2 separate regions of the Homo sapiens genome follow, and region 2 is linked to region 1. Evidence: promoter capture Hi-C in 16 types of primary human blood cells and fetal thymus (Javierre and others, 2016). All regions are on one chromosome and are shown on one strand. Each heading gives the region's core, a stretch centred on a gene start or on the middle of the fragment in contact. The rest is flanking DNA. Distances are from core to core; before and after follow the strand shown.

Region 1 (5,095 bases), core at 1,772-4,271:
GGAGGGGCAGGGCCACCTGGCCAGAAGCTCAAATTCCTGCACCTTGTAGTACCTCAACCTCCCTGCTCCCAAGCCACGATAAAGGAGGCAAGTCACAGTGCCTATCCCCCATTCTGACACCCAAGCTCAAATCACACAGCACCTTGTTAGTAGAATCTTTTTTATTCAGAAAAAAAAAACCCCAAAAAACAAAAGTTTTCCAACCACACACGGGAGGGATATGGGTAGGGGGAGGTGTCTGTCCATCCAGCCCTGGCCCCCAGCCCATGTGGTTTTGGCAGCAATAAGGGGTATGGGGTAATGGCCCAAAAAATAAAATGGTTTGTGTGTGTATGGGGAGGAAAGGGGTGCAAAGCTGTGGGGAGCGGTGAAGGGGAAGGGACAGACGAGGTCAGTACTGGGAACGCCGAAGGTGGGAGGCCATTTCATAACATTTCTTGTTGATCAAACCACCGTGGACACCTTCTTTGCCCATCAGCAGGACTAGCGCTGGAGGAGGAGGAAAGAGAAAGGAGGCTAGGATCCAGGTGTCACAATTCCACCCCCTGCCAGCTGTTCAGCAGCTGTCCAGCCCTGGGGGCTGTAACCCAACCTCATCTCTCCCAACCCGCCCCCCCACCACACACAGGCAGGCTGTCAGTCACCCTGAAACAATAAGGCTTTTCAAAAGAGGAAAATCAAGCTTAAACGCTGGAGAGGAACAGACTAAAAACTTAGGGGTCAAAGGCTCATAGACTGTTGATTCATGTGTTCAGGCTAGAAAGGGCTGTGGATGTGCATGCCACCTCCAGGTTCTAACAAAAGAACTCAAACGATGAACTCGATGATTCAAGACCCCAACAATCTACCTATACTCCTAGAAAACAGTTTCTAATCCGAGCTCAAGGCAGTAAGTAATTTAAGAGGTAATGCAGTTCAGCAACTTCGAATTACAAGATGAGGAACTGAGACAGAATGGAGGGACTATCCCGTGTTCCAGCATCCAGCAGACAAGGAACACAATACTGGTCTGACTCCCTTCATGTTGGGGAATCACACAAAAAAGCACCCTCAAGATTACCAGAAGGCGGTACATTAGAGATCTTGGAGCTAAAGGAAGGGTAAGACTCAGGAACTCACTCTTGTCAGTCTTGGTGACAGTGACATTGAAGGTGGGGGCCCCACCGGTGCTCTTGGTACGAAGATCCATGCTAAATTCCCCATCCTGCAGCAGTGAGTCCCGGATCACCGAACATTTCTGGCCCCCAAGTGTCAGCCCATTCACGTAAAAACTTGACCGGTCTTTGCCAACCAGGACACCCACCTCAGCTGGCTGGAAGAGGAACCAAGCGCCCATCAAGTTAGTCAGTGCACCAAGATTCCCACCGTGTTCTCCAAAGACCCACCTGTCTTCCACTTCTGAGAACCACCCCGCCGTGGGGGCTAAGTATAAATTATATACTCAGTACACATCAATGAACTGTGAGAAACTCTGAGGACTGTGGGACGTTAGTGCAGAAAAAGATCATGATTCTGAAACTTAGAATATGGAACCAGGGAGGAAGGGATGACATACTCCTCTAGAGATTTAGATGTCAGTGTTAATGGGGAAAGTAAACCCAGGAAATAAAGGGAGTCAGTGAGGTAAGTGAGGAGCCTTTGGATGCTCAGAACTCTCCTTCAGGAAAAGCAGAAGCGGAGAGGGGAAGGGAGGGGGGCGGGCGAGGCAAGAGAAGCAACTTTGCCCTTATTTGGTCAAAGGTTCTGCAGGAGCTGTTAGGGCCCGGACGCCTGGGTCTCCAAGTAACCTAGAGTTTAGCTCCAGGTATCTCTGCTCTGAGATGAGGAAGCAGACCCCTGGGGGCTTTCCGGGAAAGTTGGAAAACTTTTGAAGGTGGACAGGGGCCAGACCCGGCAGGCCAGCTCTCGGGTCTAGGTACCCCGGGAACCTTTCCCCCCTCCCCCTTTCACCCCAAGCCCCCACATCCGGTCCCCTCCCGCCCGGAAACCCCCTTCCCCCCCCTTTTGAACTTCCGCTCCCCCTCCCCACTTCCGGGCAGTGTGGACAGGGAGATGGTGGTGGGAGCAGCGGTAGTAAACCAATATACTTTCGCTTATGCTGTCTCAGAACTTCTCACAAAGTTCCCCTGCTCCAGGCCCCGCCGGATGGCGGGAAGGGAGGGCGAGGGGACTTCCGGGATTGGCCTCGCAGGAATGTTGAATCCAACGTGCTGAGCTGGGGGGGCGTGTGGTGGCCTCGCCCTCTCTAACGGAGTTAGGAGGGGCCAGAAGCCCACAGAGGGTGGGCAAGGGACCAAGACCACGCGCCTGGGGCTCCCTTCCGCACCAGGAGAAACAATGGTAGAGGGACGCGGGCTGGCAGCCGGACGGGGAGCTGGGGGTCCAAGGATCCCCGGGTCCCCTCTCAATCCCAATCCCCAGTAAAAACTGAGGCGCGTCCCCGCCCCGCCCTGGGAGAGGCGGAAGTGGGCCGCCGCACCGGGCGCCGCGCCCCTCCCCGCCCTGTGCCCCGGATGTAACGCCCCGTCGCGGAAAGCGGGGTAGCGGGCGGGATGGGCGCCGCCGCCTGGGGCATAGGACCTACGGGCAACTGAGGGACCCACTCACGTGCAGCCGCCATTCGCGCCGCTTCCAGGGCAAGCACCCAGTCAGGGCCTCTCGCTGCGCGCCCTAGACCGCGCCCGCCCCCACCCAAGTCCCTCCCTCAGGGTCCAAACCGGAGCAGTGCCCCGGACCGCGCAGGCCTCGCAGTACCGTGATGTTGACGAACGTTTTCCCGGGGACGGCGGCCCAGACGGAGGGCGAGTCCTTGTAGCCCACGATGGCCGCGTCCTGACAGGTCCCGTCCGCCATGAGGTTGTCGATGTAGGCGTTCCACCCGGCCATGGCGCTGCTACTGGGGCTGCTCTCGGCGCTGCTGCTGGGGCCGCGGACTGGGCTCGAGCTGCCTCGGCTGGCGGGCGGGGGGAGGCGGAGAGCTCGGGGCACGCGCTGCCGTCCGGACCGCGGCTCCGCTCGCTGTGCAGCAGCCCTCGCACCGCCACTTCCTGCTCCTCCCCCCCCCCGCCCCGCTAGATTTTTATTTGCAAAGGACGGTAGGGGCGGGGCCTACTCCCCATTCCCTCCCTCCCCCACTCGCCAGCCCAGACACCGAACTTTGCAAATGCAATTTTAAAAATCCCTCCCCCTATTGCAAAATTTGCAGAGTTCGATGGAAAGCAATGCAGAAGGATGGGGGGTGGCGGGAGAGAGGTGAAGGGTAGGGTTTGCTCCAATTTGCACTGAATATAAACCAGACTTTGGTATCGGGGCAGGGAGTGAGCCAGAAGAAGGAAGGAAGGAGAAAGCAGGAGGAATTAGCAAGCTGCAAATTTAGCAAATTAAGGAGAGTTCGGGGAGCCCAGGGTTAAACGGGATGACTCCTCCTTCCCCCACCTCCGCCGAAGGGAAGGACCGGCGGGCGGCGGCGCGTGTGCCCGCGCCTGCGCCTGCGCCGGGGCCGGGAGTGCATGGGGCGGTCGGGGCCGGAGCCGGCTGCACGGGAGCGCGCCCGGCCCGACCCGTGTGGACCCTGCGGGAAAGGAAGGCGGGCTGGGGACGTGTCTCCCGCCTGGCGGAAGGGGCGGGGGCGAAGCCGTGCGCGCTGCCGCCTCACCACCCTTGATTTTACTTATTCAAGTAATAAGAAAGCAAAGAAGAGTTTGGCCAAATCCTCTAGTCGCTCTCATAGCTGAAGGCACCCACCGGGGCCACTTCTGTCCCCAGCGTCTTCTCGGGTCGTGCAGGTTGGGTTCACCAGGGCCCATTCTCAGTCTAGAGGATTGTCCCTTCTCTGGATCGGCTCTAGCCCAGGGCCTCACCCCACATCCCAGCCCCGCCCGCCCCAGGCAGGCAATGTCTGGATCACCGGCCGTGCCCCTTGGCCTGTGTCTGCAGAGGTCACAGAGCGCGGACACCCGCGGGGCTTAACAGGCGGGGCTATTTTTCGAGGCGGAAGAATACTCAAGTTGCAAGAGTGGCAACTTTTTCAAGAAGGGGAAAGTCCCACTTCGGGCCCTTTGGGTTTCTTCGCAGTCAGATGTGCGCTCACAGCCACCTGGGGAGGGCGGGACGGGCGGGACGGCCGTGCGGCGGCCGCGGTGAAACCGCCTCCTCCGACCCGCCGCCGAGGGCTGGGCGGCTTCCGGAGCCTGGGCTAGGGGCAAGGGGTCACCGAGCGCGGCCCGGGCGGAAAGGGGGTTGGTTTTCTCTCTCCTCCCGAGCGCGGCGCGCATCCCTGGCGTCCACGCCGAATCCCACAGTCCCCGACGCCCCTCGAGTCCGTGTTCCTCGACAGCCGCGCGGCTGAGTCACTGGCGGGCTCGGGCGGGGCCGCACCCGGGCACGTGGCGGCGCTCCCCGCCCGCCATCTCCTGACCCCTGGCCCACCGCACCCCTACCCCAGGGTGGAAAAATCCCGGGAGGAGCGGCCTGAGATGAGGGGGCGGGGCGAGAGGGGAGACTGGACGGGTGGCGGGGCAGGTGGCCTGGGGTGGGGGCTGGGAGGCCGCGCGGGCCGGCGGGGCGGGGAGCAGGGGTGGGGAGAGGGCGGCGGGGGTGAGTCACCGGGCGCGCGCTGCCCCGGCGCCGACGGGAAGGGCCTCCGAGTCGGGCCGAGGCGCCGTGTGTCCCCCGCCGGTCGGCTGGTATGGCTGCAGAGGAGCTCGGGGCAGACCCCGCACTGGCCCCAGAGCCGGCAAAGTGGAGATCTCTACCGAGGGCAGAGACCTACCTCCCCGCAGTGCTACAAGTGGGGCGCCGGAAGAGCCCCAGGCGTGCAGAAGCTCACAAAAGGCCACCCGTCCTCGGTCCATTCATTTTTGTTCACTGTTGATTCAGCCCCATTCATTGATGGGCTGGGGCCGTGCGCTGAGCGCCCACAGTCGATGGGGAAAGGGGCTCTGACCGACAGTCCCCACGCCGGGCGACAAGTGCTGTCCCAGCGTTATCAGTCGGGCGCCTTGCCAGCCGAAAGGGCCTGTCTAAATTCGTTTCCTGTCCCCTAACTCATCCCGGCGCTGGCTGGCCTGGAGAGGGTAGGATGGGGCGGCGCCGA
Region 2 (5,095 bases), core at 788-3,287, 460 kb after region 1:
TCCTTTCTTCTAAAATGTAGCTTCTCTTCAAGGCTTTGGATCCCCATATTAAATTTGATTTGACAAATACTTATTATTGAGTGCTAGATGATACTCCCAGTGAATGATGGTTTAGTTGATGAGGCAGACATTTAACCAGAATTACTATACCATGTGATAAGTGCAACAACAGAAGGATTTATGGTGTACAAAGGAATGACAAAAAGATACAAAGATAATGAAGAAAGCTATAAAAAATAAATGAGAAAAATGAGAAAGAATGATTTCTGGGAAGGGGATTGTTGAGCATTCCAAGCTAGAGATCAGTTTATGCAAAGTCCTGGAAACATGAAAGACAAAGAACTAAGAACAAGAAAACTTATTTAGTATGATGGGAGGCAAAGTACAAGGTGGAAGGCAACGGCAAAATAGCTAGACAGACATCCAGGACTGGCTTATGAAGTACACAGTCTTGTGTGCTATGTTAAACTATTTGAAATCTATCTGCCGGGTAACAGTATATCACTAGAGGTTTAAATCAAGCGATGGAGCCTCACTTTACAAATCAGTCTGGTATTAGGGAGGAAGACATGGAAGGGTCCAAAATGGGATTTGGGGAAACTATTTAAGAAAATAAGCCAGGCAGATGGTGAAGTAGGCAGATGATGCAGTTCTGAAGCAGGGACAGAGGAATGCAGAGAAGGGTGTATAATCAGGGGTGTCCAATCTTTTGGCTTCCCTGGGCCACACTGGAACAATTGTTTTGGGCCACACAGAAAATACACTAACAATACGTGATGAGCTTTAAAAAAAAAAGAAAAGAAAAGAAAATCGCAAACAAATATCATAATGTTCTAAGAAAGTTTACAAATTTGCGTTGGGCTGCATTCAAGGCTGTCCTGGGCTGCGCGCAGCCCGTGGGTTGGACAAGCTTGGTGTATACTTTCGAAAAATTTAAATCACAAAATCAATAGAAATTTGGGACTGATGAAATGTAAGGATGAAGAAAACTTTTGGGTTTTGGGCTAACGTTACTAGGCAGATCATGGTTTGGACAAATGAGGGCTCAGCAGCAAGAGGAGAAAGGGTAAGGGAAGGTACTAAAGTTACCACAAAATCCTCCTGAGATCATGTGTGAAAGGCAGAGAACATTTCTGCCAAGGAGAATGCACTCAACAGTGAATCCTCACCATTCTGTAACCTACCGAGCTCTTTCATCTTTCTAATCTTTATGGTTTTGCGTACTCTCTTCTCTCTCCTGTACCCACTTCTGATTCTGTCTAGTGAATCCTTCAAGTTCAAGCTTTTGTAATAGCATTTCCTTAAAGTCTTCCAAGATGAGCAGGCCTACTCATTTACTCCATCACACTCCTGAAGAACCCGGTGATGCCCTGAGCACATGACACTGTACTATAGTTACTGGTTTAGTTGTATGCCCTTCTGGTAGTTAAGGAACCACATGGCAGGAACCTTGCCTTCAATCTTGTATTTCCATCTTCTGCCAGAGTGGGTCCTGAATAAGTATCTGTTAAGTCGATTTACAAGCGAATAAACTCTAATGCTCAGCCCTTAGCCTTATGCCTCTGCAGTTTTCCCTCAAATTCTTATCCTGTATAGACTCTCTCACCATGAAAGATGATTCTCATACCTCTATTTTAATTCTTCTTGTCTGTCATCATCCTGTATTTCCAACTGTCCATGGAATATTTCCATTTTATTGGTCCAATACTATCTTACACTGATTTACTTAGAAATAAATCTTCTCCCCCAATTAGCAGCCTTTACTGACCTGTTTCTGTTCATGGCATACTCCCTTATCCAAACAGTAACTAAGTCTTATTTATCCTTCCTTTGTTGTTATCTACTGTGTTTCATTTTTCCCTCTGTTCTATTACCACCCAAGTTCAAACTCTCATAAATGACAAGCTCAATTTTGCAAAAGCTTCTTTAAAAGTCTCTGTCCCAGTCCCCTCCCTAACCAATTGTTTTGTCCTTCTGTTCAGAAACCATCACTGGCTTCCTACTACCCTATTCCTACAGAAAAAAAACCCACACTCACTCTTTTAACGAGGTATTTTTAATTCCAGCAAATTTTCTCGGGACAGATACTCCAGCTTTATCACTTAATGCTCCCTACATGAATCCTCAGCTCTAGCCCAGAATGTCTAATAAATTAAGCTTGAATGACACTTGCACTTGCTTATTTTCAGACGCTACTTTATGCTGCCCTTGACAGAAATGGTCTCACTCTTCCTTGATACTTCATTTAATCCTGAATGAGACCTTTAAGTCACACATGACACCACTCCTTCTCTACGAAAATTTCCTTAACCTCCCAGTCAGAATGATCTCTCCTTCCTCGGGGTTCTTACTGTCTGTGTACCAATACTGTGGTATGGATAGTATTTTTTCATGTGTATGTATCTTTCTCCCCACAACTGGGACATAAGATACCAGATTACCACGCCTACGTGGTGTCTTGTTCATATAAGATAAACAATAAGCACTTGTTCGGATAACTAGAATTTGTGAACACAAATCCAGGCCTATCATAAGTGATTATCCAAGAATTCTATAGAACTTACCCAAATAATATGAAGAAATGAAAGGCCAAATGACCTGTACTAACTCTTTCTCAAAAATATGCAAGCCAAGCATGTGAAGGCTGCAACATTTCCACAGACTCAAAAACATGGCTCCCAAGTCCAGCCTCAATGATATCTACTGGAGCCCAAACTGAGTTTTCATTTCAGGTGGGTGACCACCTCAACTTACCTGTGTAACAGACTGATGTATGTCAGGAAAGTCTCTCCATTTTCATATAAGATGTACAGTGGGTATGCCACTACTTCATCTTTGCCGTTTTGTCCAAATAGAGTCTTTGGGACTGCTGCCAATGGCCCAAAGTCAAATGCAACTGCTGTCTCTCCTAGAGATGCGGTATACGCCCTTCTGGAAAGAGATGTAAAAACCAACTTGTTAAAAACAAAAACAACAAAAAGTAAAAAGAAAAACAAAACAAAACAAAAACACAAAATGTCTAATAACAGGAGGTGGGTATGTATGGAATTTGTAGGCAATGGACTGAAAAGACAAAAAATGATTATGAAGAATGTTAACATTTAAAAATTCTCAGCTGGGTGCAGTGGCTCATGCCTGTAATCCCAGCAATTTGGGAGGCCGAGGTGGGTGGATCACCTGAGGTCAGGAGTTCGAGACCAGCCTGGCCAACATGGTGAAACCCCGTTTCTACTAAAAATACAAAAATTAGTTGGGCGTGGTGGCAGGTGCCTGTAGTCCCAGCTACTTGGGAGGCTAAGGCAGGAGAATTGCTTGAACCTGGGAGGCGGAGGTTGCAGTGAGCCGAGATTGTGCCATTGCACTCCAGCCTGGGCGACAAGAGCGAAACTCCGTCTCAAAAAAAAAAAAAAAAAAAAAATTCTCATGAAATTAAGTGAAAAAAGCTGGCCATAAAATTATTTGGTTCTACTCTCATCTTAAATAGTTTAAATACACAGATATACAAATAGCAAAAATTTATTATATACACACACATAAATGCAAAAAGGAAACAGGAAAACACATGAAAACATCAACAGTTGTCTCTGAGCAGCAGGATCCGTAAGTTCTACAAATACTCGCAAAGCACCTACTCTGTGCCAGGTACTTTTCTAGGGTCTGGGAATATGTCAGTGAATTAAACAAATGTCCTGCCCTCTAGAGAGAGAAATACCACAAAAAGAGAAGAAATAAAGATGGAACATAAACTCAGAAAATATCATGAAAAATAAAGTAGGGTAAGAGGGTATTGATGGAGGTGCTACTTTAGACTACTTGGTATAGGAAAGACTCTGATAAGATATTTGAGCAAAGATCTGAAGGAAGTAAGAGAGCAAGTCTGTGGTTAACTAGGGAAGGAGCAGTTGAGGTGGAGAGCAAATGCTCTAAGGTAGAAGTGCTTAATGTCTGTGGAATGGCAAGGAGGCCAAGGTGCCTGGAGCCCAGAGAGCCAGGGCACAGAGGGAGGAATGAAGCTGGAAAGGCAATCAGGTGGCATACCTGTGGACCCTTTATAGGTAAAGACTCTGGGAAATCAATGGGGTATGGAGAGCAGGGAAGTAGAATGATCTGATTAAACTGATCTGATTAAACTTAGATTAAAGTAGAATGATGTGATTAAACTTTGGGTGCTGTATTGAAACAGGCTATAGCTATAGGAGATTACAAAGATTTTCATTTTCTTCCTAATACTTTGATCTATTTTTCTCAATTTTCTACAGCAAATATACATTACATGTATATCAAGAAGGCAAATCATAAAACCATGCTGTTTTTATATTTAAAATTTACTGTAGTTATTCAGGAAGATTCTAGTTCAATACAAAGTTAACAAATATGGTTAAAATGAAATCACAATTTCATATAGTTGAGAGAGCAAACATCAATGCAAGATATTATCTTAGTTTCTTTATCACATAGAAAGGTGATAAAGAAATGAATGGTGGCTCAGGCCTGTAATTCCAGCACTTTGGGGAGGCTGAGACGAGCAGGATCACTTGAGCCTAGGAGTTCCAGACCAGCCTGGCCAACACGACGAATCCCTGTTCTACTAAAAATACACTTACTTCTCACATTACCAAAAGCATGCTAGTCACCTCTGAAAAACCTTGCAACCTGTTAAAATTGCATTTATAATCCCAATAAGCTAATTAAAAAACCATTTCAAGACTCAAATAAAAACTTACCCTTTATTGAGTACTAGACTTTCCTCTTCGGCTTCTGAAAGTATTATCACGTTAGTGGGTGTCTGCGGCTCACGTAGTGAGTAAATTCTAGCAACCAAAAGAGAAGAAAACCAGCACTTAAAATTCTGTTTTCATTTCCCAAAACTGCACTTTCCTCTCCATCTAGTCAGTTCTTGAGAATTTTCTAACACTTATCACAACTATTTCTTTGCAAAAATCTTGCTGTTGCAAAGTAGTCTAGTTCATTTATTCTTTAACTACATAAGGGAGTTTCATTGGGGCCTGAAGAAATGTTCTCTATCCTTACCAATACCCTTTAACAGCCTATTCCATAACATCGCACCTCTGTCACTTCCGTCCTGAGCCCTTAG

Evidence for each region. Contacts are between HindIII fragments. The CHiCAGO score rates a contact against its expected background, and 5 or more counts as called.
Region 2: a fragment that was not itself captured here is called in contact with the fragment with the promoter of PFN1 in region 1 in 1 of 17 cell types (naive B cells); the score reaches 5.3 in naive B cells.

The regions. Positions count from the first base shown.
Region 1 is chr17:4,945,509-4,950,603 of GRCh38, forward strand. It overlaps PFN1 (profilin 1), which reads right to left and starts at 3,022. Exons shown (of 3, transcript NM_005022.4): 1 at 2,755-3,022; 2 at 1,120-1,312; 3 at 144-489. The coding sequence starts at 2,886. The coding sequence ends at 392. It also overlaps a transcript of ENO3 not described here. RefSeq lists enhancers at 12-181, 852-931, 3,812-3,981 and silencers at 2,292-2,521, 2,552-2,621, 2,892-3,231, 3,362-3,611, 4,072-4,481 and 1 more. The HindIII fragment of the contact is 10,043 bases long and covers 681-5,095 here.
Region 2 is chr17:5,405,979-5,411,073 of GRCh38, forward strand. It overlaps NUP88 (nucleoporin 88), which reads right to left. Exons shown (of 17, transcript NM_002532.6): 4 at 4,725-4,811; 5 at 2,755-2,931. Among named protein-coding and RNA genes, the nearest start is that of NUP88, 11 kb to the right of the region's middle. The HindIII fragment of the contact is 236 bases long and covers 1,920-2,155 here.